Linked DNA regions of Homo sapiens: all the other regions are linked to region 3. Evidence: promoter capture Hi-C in 16 types of primary human blood cells and fetal thymus (Javierre and others, 2016). All regions are on one chromosome and are shown on one strand. Each heading gives the region's core, a stretch centred on a gene start or on the middle of the fragment in contact. The rest is flanking DNA. Distances are from core to core; before and after follow the strand shown.

Evidence for each region. The method cuts DNA at HindIII sites, captures the fragments that hold promoters and counts their contacts. A CHiCAGO score of 5 or more calls a contact.
Region 1: a fragment that was not itself captured here is called in contact with the fragment with the promoter of ATP1B3 in region 3 in 2 of 17 cell types (activated CD4 T cells and fetal thymus); the score reaches 7.4 in activated CD4 T cells.
Region 2: a contact is called between the fragment with the promoter of TRPC1 here and the fragment with the promoter of ATP1B3 in region 3, in 2 of 17 cell types (fetal thymus and total CD8 T cells). The highest score is 5.7, in fetal thymus.
Region 4: a contact is called between the fragment with the promoter of SLC25A36 here and the fragment with the promoter of ATP1B3 in region 3, in 1 of 17 cell types (activated CD4 T cells). The highest score is 5.1, in activated CD4 T cells.
Region 5: a contact is called between a fragment that was not itself captured here and the fragment with the promoter of ATP1B3 in region 3, in 1 of 17 cell types (naive B cells). The highest score is 5.3, in naive B cells.

What each region holds. Positions count from the first base shown.
Region 1 is chr3:141,234,592-141,237,291 of GRCh38, forward strand. The region is part of intron 1 of PXYLP1 (2-phosphoxylose phosphatase 1); the gene reads left to right. Among named protein-coding and RNA genes, the nearest start is that of PXYLP1, 4.1 kb to the left of the region's middle. The HindIII fragment of the contact is 1,116 bases long and covers 861-1,976 here.
Region 2 is chr3:142,722,768-142,725,467 of GRCh38, forward strand. TRPC1 (transient receptor potential cation channel subfamily C member 1) reads left to right here and starts at 1,267. Exons shown (of 13, transcript NM_001251845.2): 1 at 1,267-1,964. The coding sequence starts at 1,793. RefSeq lists a silencer at 1,511-1,560 and an enhancer at 1,819-2,685. The HindIII fragment of the contact is 1,344 bases long and covers 594-1,937 here.
Region 3 is chr3:141,875,345-141,878,044 of GRCh38, forward strand. ATP1B3 (ATPase Na+/K+ transporting subunit beta 3) reads left to right here and starts at 1,299. Exons shown (of 7, transcript NM_001679.4): 1 at 1,299-1,566. The coding sequence starts at 1,458. RefSeq lists silencers at 194-253, 1,124-1,253, 1,524-2,093. The HindIII fragment of the contact is 6,749 bases long and covers 1-2,700 here.
Region 4 is chr3:140,940,433-140,943,132 of GRCh38, forward strand. SLC25A36 (solute carrier family 25 member 36) reads left to right here and starts at 1,404. Exons shown (of 7, transcript NM_001104647.3): 1 at 1,404-1,663. The coding sequence starts at 1,623. RefSeq lists enhancers at 1,378-1,747, 1,841-2,688, 2,328-2,557. The HindIII fragment of the contact is 2,098 bases long and covers 328-2,425 here.
Region 5 is chr3:141,355,508-141,358,207 of GRCh38, forward strand. It overlaps a transcript of ZBTB38 not described here. Among named protein-coding and RNA genes, the nearest start is that of ZBTB38, 12 kb to the right of the region's middle. The HindIII fragment of the contact is 7,008 bases long and covers 1-2,700 here.

The sequences.
Region 1 (2,700 bases), core at 169-2,668, 640 kb before region 3:
TGCAGCTCTATTGGTGGGAGGGAGGTTGGTGTTTTGGGCCAGTGCTTTGGTCTCTTGGAGGTGGCTATAACCCACTGGCAGATGGGGCAAGGTCCAGCTCTTGTGCCTCTGTCAAAGGCCACCCCCAGGCAGTACAGCCAAATGCTGAGGGGGTGGGAACACCTCATGTCCCCCTTTTTTTGTGGGGGAATCTGGAAAGGGCTAAAATTGAGACTGCCACTTGGCTGTGGGAGCCTGCACTGCCCCTGGCTGTCACGAACTTATCTTTCTTACCCAGATTGTCTCTGTCTTCAGGTCTGGCTCAGAATTCCTGCAGCTGGTGAAAATCTGTTTTCTAGAAGAGGTTTAATTAATGCCTGCAGTCTGTGAGTAAGAGAAAGGGAGGAGAGGGAGAAAGAGACATACTACTATCTAGAGGTGGGTGGGAGAAAGGATAGGAGAATGTTCAAGGTCCTGAAAATTCATAGGGGGAGATTTTGGCCCCAGAACCTGTCCCTGGACAAGGTTCCTGGTTGGTGGATAAGGAAGTGTGCCCACATTCCAGTGTAGGGGTTACCAGTTAGGAGCAAAGTCACTGAGATAGGAAAAATGACCCCATGGGAATCTGAAATCCATTTGCTGGGCCCATCATTCTGGTTTTGAGAAGGCCTTGAAAGCCAGCTGAGACTTGGGCTTAGCACGGCAGGAGAGCACTGAGCTGTTTGAAGTTTTTGAATGAGGTGTGTGCCCTTTTGGAAATAATGGCTTGAGCAAGATTGGTCTGGGGTTTGGCCTGGGAAGCCACTTTACCATGGCTTAATTTATAGGCCCTGAGCTGTAGCCCCAGTCCCCTTTGACATCACCCATTTTCCAATGGAGGAAGCTTCCAGGGAGACAGGGTACCACTTGGAGAGCCCCCATGGCCACTTCAGATTGCAGCCATTGCCACTTCATCTCACCTGAGGTGCTGAGGGGAGAGTCTAGGTAAGTGACAAAAGGAGCAGTGGCTTGGAAGGTCTGTGCACCTGTATTTAGGAGGTGAAGAAGAGGGAGCAGCTTTCTAGTAGGATGGTGGGCCTTTTGATAGAAGCATCTCCCAGGGACTCTTTTTGAACCTGCTGTGCAGCCTTGCAGGTAAACGACGGCCCATTGGAGCCTCTCAACCTGGAGATGCTGCATGGCAGCCACGAGGAGGCACCCGTGAACCCAGAATGAATTTCAGGGTCCGCTCTGAGTCCAAAAGGCAGGAGGGCCCTGGCCAACTAACACCTAACTGAGCCACAGACTCTGGCCTGTTTATCCTCCACCCTCAAAACCAGCAGGCTTCTCTGACCCTTTTTGGACTTTGGCTGGGGAAGCCACTGGCTTTTGGAAAAAGTTCAGTCTGCAGTGATGGCGGGAACAATCTCAGGAGTCTGGAAGAAGTTAATGATTAAAAAGGCATGGAAGAAGAACTGGATGGCGGCTTGGGGAGTAGTTTCTGCAGTCAGGAGGCACCCTTCACCTCATTCCCTTGGCCCACAGTCATCTGTGCATGCGTCTGCCCCTCCCTCCATCAGTGGAGCTCCCTCTGAGCTGCGTACTCGAGGGTGGAGGAGAGTTTGGGGGAACTCAAACATGTGGTAGTAGAGACTGTAGTAACTTTAAAATTCTCTTTGTATTTGCAGAATCATTTCCCCAATTTACACACTCATGTTTCAGTTTACAGGGCATCCTTTTGTCACCTGCTCGCCACCCTTATGCCCCTGGGTGTGACCAGCTTCCTCAGAAAGAGCTGTAATCAATAGCATATTGATTAAAAAGCATATTAAGATGAAAATTATTGCACCTGGTTTTGATGCCCCCACTCTCTCCCCTTTCCTCCTCCACTTCTGTTTGTGGTTACAGCCATCATTTACATTAAAGTTACAAATCATTTTGAATACTATTTGTCCCACCCCTCAGTTATTCAGAGACATGTGTCTTTTCAACCAACAAAACCACAGCTTGCTTTCCTAAGCTTACCTCATTCTTGGATCTAACACCAACCTTCAGGCCTTCAGAGATCCAGCAGTATCATTTTGAGCTTTTAACCGTAAAATAAAATGAAGCTCTTACTTGCTGTTTGTTCTCTGCAGACATAGGAGAATCTAGTTAGAATTAAACATTTACTGTCTTGTTAAGGCTTTATGCTTCTAAAATGAAAGTGGCAGTTGGATTACCGTAAAGTTAGTAAAGTTGTAGAACAAATTTTTGGAAGCTCAGAAATAATAATGGAGGGACTTACAGAAATAAACTATTAAGCTTAAATCTTAAAACATAGATATAAATATGAACTATCTTGAAAGTATAGAAAATTTGGCAAGTATAGATTAATAAGTATATAATATTTTATGCAAGTTATATTAATTATTAGGATCATGCATTATGTTTATACAGTACCTTACTATATAAAAAAGCAACTTTGTCCATATCTCATTTGATTCAATAAGCCTGCGATCTGCTTAGAGATGGGGAGATGGGACCTTGGGATGGTTAAAAGGCTTCCTCTAGAATTCAGATCTCATAAGCAGAGAAATACTATGTAAACCTGGATATCCCTGCCCACGTTGCTTGATAACCAAATGTGGTTACATAGTTTTTTGAAAATTGTAGGTGGTCCTATTCTTAGGGATAAAAATAGGCATTGGTTTTCTCTAAAACTTTCTGCAAGTCAAACAAACAAACAAAAACTCTGTATGT
Region 2 (2,700 bases), core at 17-2,516, 850 kb after region 3:
AAGATCACTAATGATCAGGGAATTCCAAGTCAAAACTGCTATGCCGTATGTACCACCCTACTTCCGCAAGAATGGCCATAATCAAAAAAATCAAAAAATAATAGCTGTTGGTGTGGATGCGGTGAAAAGGGAACACTTCTACATTACTGGTGGGACTGTAAACTAGTACACCACTATGGAAAACAGTGTGGAGATTCCTTAGAGAACTAAAAGTAGAACTACCATTTGATCCAGTAATCCCACTACTGGGTATCTACCCAGAGGAAAAGAAGTCATTACACGAAAAAGATACTTGCCCATGCATATTTATAGCAGCACAATTCGCAATTGCAAAAATGTGGAGCCAACCCAAATGCCCATGAATCAATGAGTGGATAAAGAAACTGTGATATATATATATATATATATATATGTGGTATATATATATGTGATATATATATAATGATGGAATACTACTCAGCCATAAAAAGGAATGAATAAATGGCATTCGCAGAAACCTGGATGGGACTGGAGACTATTATTCTTATTCTAAATGAAGTAACTCAGGAATGGAAAACCAAACATCGTATGTTCTCACTCACAAGTGAGAGCTAAGCTTTGAGGATGCAAAGGCATAGGAATGACACAATGGACTTTCGGGACTCGGGGAAAGGTTGGGAAGGGGGAGAGGGATAAAAGACTACAAAATTAGGTTCAGTGTATACTGCTCGATGATGGGTACATCAAAATCTCACAAATCATCACTAAAGAACTTACTCATGTAACCAAACACCACCTGTTCCTCAAAAACCTATGGAAATAATATGGAAATAAAAATTTATATATTTGTATAAATTATTTAAACATAATATAATTATATATCTATATATCCTTTATAAATGAGAGTTCATTTCCAGCCTAAAATGAGTACAACATACAAACCCACGAGTCTGGCTCTCCATTGTGCTTTAAAGCATAGTGCACCAGAATATGAAATAGCTGGACAATTCCACAAAGGATTTCGACTAAACATTAAGTCGTCAGAGACTCAATTAACATACTGCTCCATATTTGCTTAATTACCTTAAACCAGTACCCTGGGTGTGGAAAGGGACGATTGAGCGAAGTCTTCCTCAGACTGCGGTTCACCTCACCAGAGCGAAGGAAGCTGCAGCGGGCTCCAGGAGCCCAGTGCGTCCCCACCGCAGGCCCCACCCACCCACGCCCCGCTTGCCGCAGGCCCCGCCCACCCAAGCCCGCCCTTGCCGCAGGCTCCTCCCTAGTGTCGTCGCTACAGAGGAGCAGAGGATGACGTGAGGACAGAGTCGCGAACATCTCCTCGGAGCGCAGCTGGGCCAGCGGTTCCCACAGCCCTGGAGCCCAACGTGCGCAGAAGCGCCTCTTGGAGCTCCTCTCCCACAGATCTCTCGTCCTCTTCCTGGGCTAGGCCGCCCCAGGCGCGGCCCCTGCGACTCCTGGCACGGCCCCGTGCTCGGCTGCCGCCCTGGCGCGCGCCACACTGTCGTCCCCGGACGGGCGCGGACCGGCTCGGCCGGGGCGCCGGCGGCTGGGGAGGGGTCGCTGGCCCCGGGGCCGCGCATGCGCCGCCACCAACTTGGGGCTGTCAGTGGAGGGCGAGTGCTGGTTCTCAGGGGAGGCGACGCCCTTCGGGGCCAACGGGCCTCGAGCCGAGGCAGCAGTGGGAACGACTCATCCTTTTTCCAGCCCTGGGGCGTGGCTGGGGTCGGGGTCGGGGTCGGGGCCGGTGGGGGCCCCGCCCCCGTCTCCTGGCCTGCCCCCTTCATGGGCCGCGATGATGGCGGCCCTGTACCCGAGCACGGACCTCTCGGGCGCCTCCTCCTCCTCCCTGCCTTCCTCTCCATCCTCTTCCTCGCCGAACGAGGTGATGGCGCTGAAGGATGTGCGGGAGGTGAAGGAGGAGAATACGCTGAATGAGAAGCTTTTCTTGCTGGCGTGCGACAAGGGTGAGAGTTAGGCCCCTTTCTCCTCTGGACGCCCCTGTCCTCCAGACCTTTAGTCCTCTCCCCCGCCTCAACTTATATCGGGGCATTCCCTCTGTCTCAGGCGCCGAGTGTCTTCCCGCCTCGCCTGCTGCCTCAGGCGGTCTTCTCCTCACCGCCTCTGCCCTGTGAGTGTGGAGCTGGCGGGAGAGTGGAGCTGGGGCTGCGCCCTCGGAGCGCTGCACCGTCGGGGGTGGCTCTGGCCTTGGGGTCCGGGGTTTAGGTAGCGCCTTGGGAGCCCCGACCCCAGCGTTTTAGCGCCGCCCTTGCTACTGACCGCATGAATGACCTGGTCTTCTCTCTGGCTCGCAGTTCATTCCTTCCGGGAGTCGAGAGGCTAGTTTCCGACACTCCAGTCGGAAAATTCCGTCACCTTACCTTAGGATGCCTCGTATGGAGGGTTCTCATCACCTGGTTTTTGTTTTTCTTAAAAACAAAACCAGACCCTCTATTATTTAGCTTCACCTGACCAGTGCTTTAGCCAGTGACTGTTGACTGGCATTAATAACGGAATATCCTAGGTGGAGATACATGAAGTAAGGACGGGACGGAAGAAATTCTGCCTTAGTTGCCAAAACTTTCTCTGGATTTACGGAACGCCTTTGATTGTTAGTGCTTTTTATTGGAGAGAAAGATTTATTGCTCCCAGATCTTTCTTTGGGAGATAAAGATAGTGAAAAATAATTACAGGAATTACAAG
Region 3 (2,700 bases), core at 49-2,548:
ATTTGTGGGAGGTATAATTCATTATTTCTTGCTTTGGTAAGAAAAGTGAGGAAAAAGGAAAATTCATCCATTTGCAGGCTGTTTAAACTTCCAGACAGATTATAATTCATCACTCCAAACAATAAGATGGCTATTACATTTCTCCATAATTTTTATTTGCTAATAAAACGGAGGCAGAGCTTTTTTCTAAAAATAAATAAATAAACAACAACAACAACAACCTCCCCCACCCCGCACCTTCTGTGCAAATTCCTATAAAGTCTTTTATCCTGTCGCTGAGTCTGAGGGCACCCCCCCTCCCGTACTCGTCAGCTCCATCTCGCGGAGGAAAACGCTACCGGCACCCTCAGCTCCGCCCAAGGGCCGCGATCTCTACAGGGGAGATGAAAAGCCGGCGACACTACACAGGCGTGGACCCTCCAACGAGTGTTCCTTTCCTGTGGGTTAAGAGTAGGAGCGTCTGGGCAAAAGCTGGGAGCTTTCAGTTGCCAGGACCCTTGGGAAAGCACGTATTTAGATTTCATTGATAAATTCAACTGAATCCCGAGAAAAATTATACTCCATTCACTGGCATATTTAGAACGGAATTCCCATTGACCCGAGGCTCCCGGTTGAACCCTTCAAGGGAGCCAAGCGAGGACGTTCTCAGAACAGCAGTGCACCGTGTACATTGTGGGAGCCCCGCGCGATCCCCCGCAGAGCGTCCTGTAGGAACGTCACAGAGCCCAGAGAGCGTCCTGTAGGAACGTCACAGAGCCCAGAGAGCGTCCTGTAGGAACGTCACAGAGCCCAGAGAGCGTCCTGTAGGAACGTCACAGAGCCCAGAGAACGCCTGGGGACGGTCGGGGAGGCAGTTCGGGGAGGGGACGATTAAGTTCCCTCAGAGAGGAAGCCGCGGGCCGACTGGAGTCGTTTTCGTGCTCTCCGCACCCGCCCGCCGCGGGTAGCATCTTCTCAGCGCCCCGGCGCCCAGGAACGCCCAGGAAACCCAGTCCTCCTCCTAAGCAACCTGCGGCGCGGGGACGCCCGCCTTTTGCTATTATTATAAACGTGCGTGCGACTAAACCTTCGGATTTTTAGACTTTCTTCTCGCTTCCTCTGACCCAGGCTGAGGGAGCCCCCGAGGCTACTGCGGGGCGGGGCCGGGGCGGGGTGGGGCGCCCTCGCCGCCTCAGGCAGCGCCCCGGCCGCTGGCGGGAGGCGGCAGCGGCGCGGGCCGAGCGGCGCGGGGATTGGCTGCGGCGGGCGGAGACGTCAGGCTCCCGCGGCCCAAGCGGCCGCCCGGCGCGGCGCGGCGCAGTCGGCTCGAGTACTCCCCGTAACGAGGAGGTGTTCTCGGCCGTCCCACCCTTCACTGCCGTCTCCGGGCTGCGCCGCCGGAGCCGGGACGCGCCTCCGCAGCCCTCGCCGCCTCCATCCCCGCGGCCGCAGCTCCTCTCGCCGTCCGCGCGCACACCATGACGAAGAACGAGAAGAAGTCCCTCAACCAGAGCCTGGCCGAGTGGAAGCTCTTCATCTACAACCCGACCACCGGAGAATTCCTGGGGCGCACCGCCAAGAGCTGGGGTGAGCGGGCAGCAGCTGGGCGTCCGGGGCCGGCCTCGGTCCCGGGGGCGCCGGGCGCGGTCTGGTGGGAACGGAAAGGCGGGAGGCGGCTCCCAGCGCCGGGGCTCCCGACCGCCCGACCCTAACCCGGGCGGCGGCGGCGCAGTGCGGCCCCATTCATTGCTCCCCGGGCCGGCCGGACTGGCCGCAGCTCGCTCCCGAAGCAGCGGGGCCCGCGGGCAGCCCGGCCGGGCCGCGCTGGTTCCTCCCTCCCTGCTGGGAGCGGGGCGCACGTGCTGCCCGGGCCTCCCGCCCGGCGCGGCGCCGGAAGCCGGGGACCCCTGCCCGAAGCCGGGCCCCGAGAGTGCAGGAGCCGAGCCCCCGGGCCTCCTTTGTACGGAGCGCTCCGGCCCGAGAGGCCCTGGCGGAGGCGCCCGGCCCGCTGAGCGGTTCGGAGAAGCCAGACCCTGCCCCACTCCAGGGGAGAGGAAATTTCCACTCCCGCCGCTATCTTGTGACTCGTCCACGCTGCCACCCCGACCGGTCGGAAGAGTGCGACTGAGTGTTAAGTGTGGGTGTGGGTTGCTTAAACGTGTAGCGGTGAGTTAATCACAGAAGTACATTGTACAAGAAAATGCACTTGAATTTGGACAGTGAAAAGGCCCTTAAAAAGGTTGGTTCCTCCCGGATTCCTTTTTAATTACAGAGGTTTTCTTCCTTACAAATTTGCTTCTTTGGGGAAAGTAAATCCTGTCTGAACAACACAGGTTTTTTTTTTTTTTCCCGTGTCTTCAAAACAGGAGAGTGATGGTTGTATGTTAGCAGATTTTTTCTATGCGTGAGCTCTTTGTTTTAATATATTTAAACCATCTACCGTGTAGAGTAGCTTTAGGATGCCTTTTTTTCCTAAAATTGTATCAATCTCTGAATGCAGGCTAGAGCTTTTTTTTTTTTTTGCCTTTATACTTAAGTAAACTAATTTTACCTTTTTAAATCCTTTTGAAACATTTTGTTAGTGGGTCTTGAAAGACCATTTCTTTCTGAGTGGGAATAAATCTCGAGAGCTTAGAACTATTTGGGCACAACATTTTTAGGATAAGCATGGAGAAATAAGCTGTGACTCAGAAAATAAACTGTTGGTGCAGACTGAAATGG
Region 4 (2,700 bases), core at 154-2,653, 930 kb before region 3:
ACCCGATGGGTGCAAAACTGTTGCACCCAGATGAGCTGCAGACAAGAGCAGGGCTTTCAATGGAAATTGTAAACAAGTGGGATCATATATTGAAACATTTCTTTGAAGAATTGTAACAGGAGATCAAACATAGCTTTCTCAGTATGATTCTGGATCAAAGCAATAGTTACCAAGAGGTGCAAGTGGTCCAGTCAAATCAAAAGTAGACTGGTCAAGAGCCGAAGTCATAGCAGCAGCTTTTTGGGATGCTCAAGGTATTTTGCCTGTTGACTTTCTGGAGGGTGGAAGAGCAATAACATCCGCTTACTATAGGAGAAAGTGAAGCAAAGCTTTAGCATAAAAACACCTACGAAATCTTCACCAGAGAGTCCTTCTCCATCAGGACAATGTTCCTGCTCATTCCTCTCTTTAAATAAGGGCATTTTTCCAGGGATTTCGATGGGAAACTATCAGGTATCCATCTTACATTCCTGACCTGGCTCCTTCTGACATATTTTTGTTTTCTAATCGTGAAAAATCTGTAAATGGCACCCATTTTTCTTCAGTTAATAACGTAAAAAAGCCTGCATTTTCATGATTAAATTCCCAGAACCCTCAATTCTTTACAGATGGACTAAAGAGCCGGTATCATCACTTACCAAACTGTCTTTAACTTGATGGAGCTTACGTTGAAAAACAAAGTTTATATTTTTAAATTTTATCTTTTAATTCCATTTCCCATGAACTTTTATTCTTTTAAAAACAAACCCAAGTATTTTAATTCTACTTGCCTTTTTTACTTATTACACACTTCGGGAGATTTTTTGCCATATGGAATCACCTCATCCCTTGTCACGATTGCATAATATTCCATAGTAGGAATGTTTCATGATTTATTTCTTCATTCCCCCACTGATTTCAATTTTCTGCAACTGCAAGCATTGTTCATAATTCTGTACTGTTTGTGAGCCTATATAGGAGTATCCGTGCACAAACCTTTTTATGCATTGTGCGAGGGTTACTCTGAGATAGACACCAAGGGAACTGCTGGGTCATAAATCCAATTTTTTCAAAGTAAATCCGCTTGCGAACCCGGAACCAAGTCGATTTTTCCCGCCCCGCCAGTTCCCTGTTCAGGAGAGTGCAGCCGTGATTGGCGCGTTCACTCAGGCCAGGGGCGCCCCAGGTCTCAGGTGCTAGGAGCGCGGTGACCTACCACCCTCCGGGCACGCGTTCTGGCCACGCCTCGCGGCCCCTTTCATTGAAAGAGCCCGTAGGGATCACGTGAAAGAACACTGCAGAGTGCGTGACGTCACGACGCTCACACCAATGGGAGCCTCTGTTTATGTCGGGAGCCATCAAATAGTCATCTTCCCCCTACCATCCCCCGCCCACTCTCCGTCGCGCTGCGCTGCGTCGCTTTCAGCCTCTGGTGAAGGGCGGCGCGCTTAGGCAGGCGGTGGCGCGGCTGGAGTGCCGCGGGGAGGGCTGTGCCGGTTGCTTTCTGCAGCCGCATCTCGGCCAGCTCTCCTCGCCGTCCCCGGGGCGCTGTGCGTCTCCAGTCCGGGACCGAAGCCGCCTGCCGTAGCGGGCGGCCAGATCCGCGTCCCGCCTCAGCGGCCGGAGGACATGCGGGAGAGAGAATGAGCCAGAGGGACACGCTGGTGCATCTGTTTGCCGGAGGGTAAGGTCCTGGCGGGGCGTGCGCACTGGGGCTGAGGGTGCTGGGGCCGAAGACGCAGGCGAGGGGGGCGAGGGGGGCCGAGGGGGGTGGGGGGGTGGGGGGGCGGGAGTGAGGCCTGGGCGGGGAGCTGCCACGGGCCTGCGGGTGAGGGGAGCGACCCAGCCCGTGGGTGGTGAGGGGGGCTCCGGTTCGGGGAAGCAAGGGGGTGAGGCCCGGGCCCGAGGGCGAGAGAGTGAGGCCCGGGCAAAGAGGGTTGAGGCATGAAACCCGGGCCGGGAGTGAGGTTTTGGGCCCGCGGGGCCGGGGTGAGGCGGAGGCCGAATCCATGCGTCTGAGGAGACGCGGGCAAGAGCTGGGGTCGGCGCTTGATTACCCGGACGCCGCTGGACCTGGCCGCACGCCGCAATCTAGCAGGCGTCGGGGATCCAGGGCCGCTTTGAGGAGCCTGGCTTCGGATTTCGCGTAGGTTGCATGGCCCAAGGGGACGGGGCGGAAAGTGCGGAGGCTGAGGACAAAATGGGCGCCGGAGACTCCTTTAGCCCTCGCTCCTTGCAGCGCTCGCTTGGGCCTCTGCACGTCACTCACGCCCCACCTCGGACCTCGGGCCGCTCATTTCCGGGCTCGGCTTTGCAAGGTGGGTGGTAAGGGGGCTACGGGATCGAGCGGGGAAGGCTTTGGTATTCTCCCGTGGTTGCTGTAGGGTGTTTCTAGCCCTTGGAAAATTTCTTGCCCGAGGTTTTCCAGGTGGTGAATGGGGTGCAAAGCTTTCCAGTACCTTTGGGGTCAGATTCCTTTCGAGAAAACCACCCCTCTTGAACACCGCTTGCTTTTCTGCTGCTTAGGAGAAAGTAGGAGTGGAGAGAGGTCAGATTTTTTGAAGATAGTGTTAATAGTTACTATGTGTGTGCAAGATTAGGACTAAGCCTAAAGTCTTAGTTCCCTGATTGCCAAAATGAGTGTTAGAGCTTCCAGTTTAGCCTCCTGTTTAGATTTGCTCCTTCTAAATCATTTGGAGAATCATAGCAATTTTAAGAGTT
Region 5 (2,700 bases), core at 113-2,612, 520 kb before region 3:
AGGCGTCTTGGTGCTGTGCTTGTCTCCCCTGGCCACAGGTTATCCATGGAGAGCCCTACTCCGGCTCTCAAAGTCAGAGCGTACAGTGTGCAGCCTCCACAGGCTTTCCAGTAGCTCCCACCTGAGTTCACACAGCAGGGGTGGGATGTAGATCCCTGCCACCCTGTAAATCTCTAGCCCAAACACCCACCTCCCACACAGACTTCCCATCTTAGGGGGGTCACCAGTAGGGCTGGACCATCCTCTCCTCCTTTAGCCACAGCAACTGTCTCCACCATCCTGAATAATTCTTCTTAATCAGTCTGGATTTCAAACAAAGATCTGAGTGGAGGGGCTTTATCCTGGGAGCCCAAAAACTTCTCTGTTTTAGGCTCCAAAGCACAAAGGGCTATTTCTTTCCCCCTGAGGAAGGAGAGCCAGCCCAAGACACAAAATTCAAAGCTAAGAAGAAATTCCCTTATCATGCTTTTTTGCTGGTAAGGCCGCAGCAGTAAAAAGGACACCAATTAACTTCTCTGCCACTCTGTTTCATGGGTGAACACTCAGCCTATAGGTGTGTGTTTGTGTGTGTGTGGTGGAGTGGGGGTTGTGTGGCCAAGTGCATTAACAAAGGCGATGTGGAGCCCTGATGAAATCTCAAAGGGCAGTTCTGAAAGAGGAGCCATGGAAAGAAAGCATTAACTGTAGCAGATGCTGCTGTGCCCTGGGACCATGGGAAGTGAGGAAATGGCAATTTGTTAGGATTTCCTGCACAGCAGTTGGACTAGGGCTGGAGTAAGGAATAGGACTGCTCATACAGTGGCCCAGGGGTGAGAAGACAGACGGCTCTTCCCTCGCCCAGCCTTGCATCCTGGCATGGGGCTACACTTCAAGGGACACCTTTTCTCACTCATACAAAAGTGTTACAGGGCTGCTGCGGCTCTGTTTAGGAAAGACAGTAGGGTAAGAAAATATGCCAGGTTCAGGGGAAGCCTCGGTATTTGGTCGACCATAAAGACTGACACAATTCTGTACTACATCTAACCTTACATGAAAGCCTCACCAAGCATCAGGGAAACAAAACACATTGACACAACCAAATACCAATCAAGGGAAGCCAGGGATGGGGAAACCAAGGCAGAGCAGCATCTCGTCCCCCTCCCTGCTCTCCTCATCGAGTTGGTCAATTGGTCAAGTGCTCTGGCTGTATCAGTCCAGGCAAATATGGGCAATTCTTAAATTCTCACTTAAAGTGTTAGAGGAGAGCTTTTAAAGATGATTGTTCCTGCTAGGCTTCCTTATTTGTTATTGCAAACAACTGGGAAATTATCTTAATAAGCGTATTCTATATAAGTGTCTTAGAATGGAGAAATTGGGGAAAAAAGATTTAAGATTTCCTTCATTAATCATCAAGAATGACTTTTTTTAAAAGTTCACTTGGGAACTATAAATGTAATATCTGTTCATTGCAGAAAATAATTAGATCACTACCAAATTGCTGTCTTCAAAATTATGTATAATATATGTTATAAATTATATAGAACCAATTTGTTTTCTCATTACTACTATTTGTGTTTGATCTTTTCTCCATACACTTGACCATTAGGCATATTCTTAATCTTTTCCATGTTTGCCAATGCGACAGGCAAATGACCCTCCTTGTGTTGGTCTCCATTTCCCTGACGCTAGTGATATTGAACATGTTTTATATACTATTTGTCATTGGTACTTTTTCTATGACTTACTTTTTTTTCTTTGCCCTCTTTCTTGTGTGTTGTTTGTTCTATTAGCACTGATATTAATCCTTTATTATTCTCCTGAAAATATTTTCTCAAAGTATGTCATTTGTCTTTCAACAGTGTTTATGGTGTCTTTAGCCAAACAGGGTTTTTATGCAAAGAAATCTATCAATGACTTACTTTATGGTATTTGGAGTTTTGTGACTTATTCAGGAAGGCACCCTCCATTATAAAAATATTCTTTTATTTTTCCATTTGGTATTTTTGTCATCTTTTGTTTTTTGTTTTGTTTTGTTTGTTTGTTCATTTGTTTGTTTGTTTCGAGATGAAGTCTCGCTCTGTTGCCCAGGCTTGAGTGCAGTGGCGCAATCTCGGCTCACTGCAAGTTCCGGCTCCGGGGTTCAAGCGATTCTCCTGCCTCGGCCTCCTGAGTAGCTGGGACTACAGGCACCCGCCACCACGCCCTGCTAATTTTTGTCTTGAACTCCTGAGCTCAGGTGATCTGCCCACCTCAGCCTCCCAAAGTGCTGGGATTACAGCATGAACCACTGCGCCTGGCTATTTTTGTGGTCTTTAAAAAAGTTTGTATCATCAACTTAGCTTTTATTTATTTGTTGTATAATGCAGAGGTAAGACCCTTAATTAACACCACCTAACCACATTTTATATGCATTGTAGAGAAAAAAGGAACCTAAGCTCTTTTATTCATCTGAGAGACCGTGGTGAGAACTCTGTGAGAGAGGAAAAGATGTTTCCCAATAAAGATCATACACTCTAGTGGGAAGGCTATTATGGTAGCCACATAATCCAAATTTTCTAAAGTAGTCCTGGTTTGTAATATTCTTTCTTACTGACACAGTATTAGCACCAACTTCTGATTCAGAAACTGTGGTCATATAGCCAATCAGCCTATGAAAGAGGACAAGGTAAGCGCCACAGGAAGTCTGTTGAATTCTACTAATTCAGAGGTGCAAGGGGCATT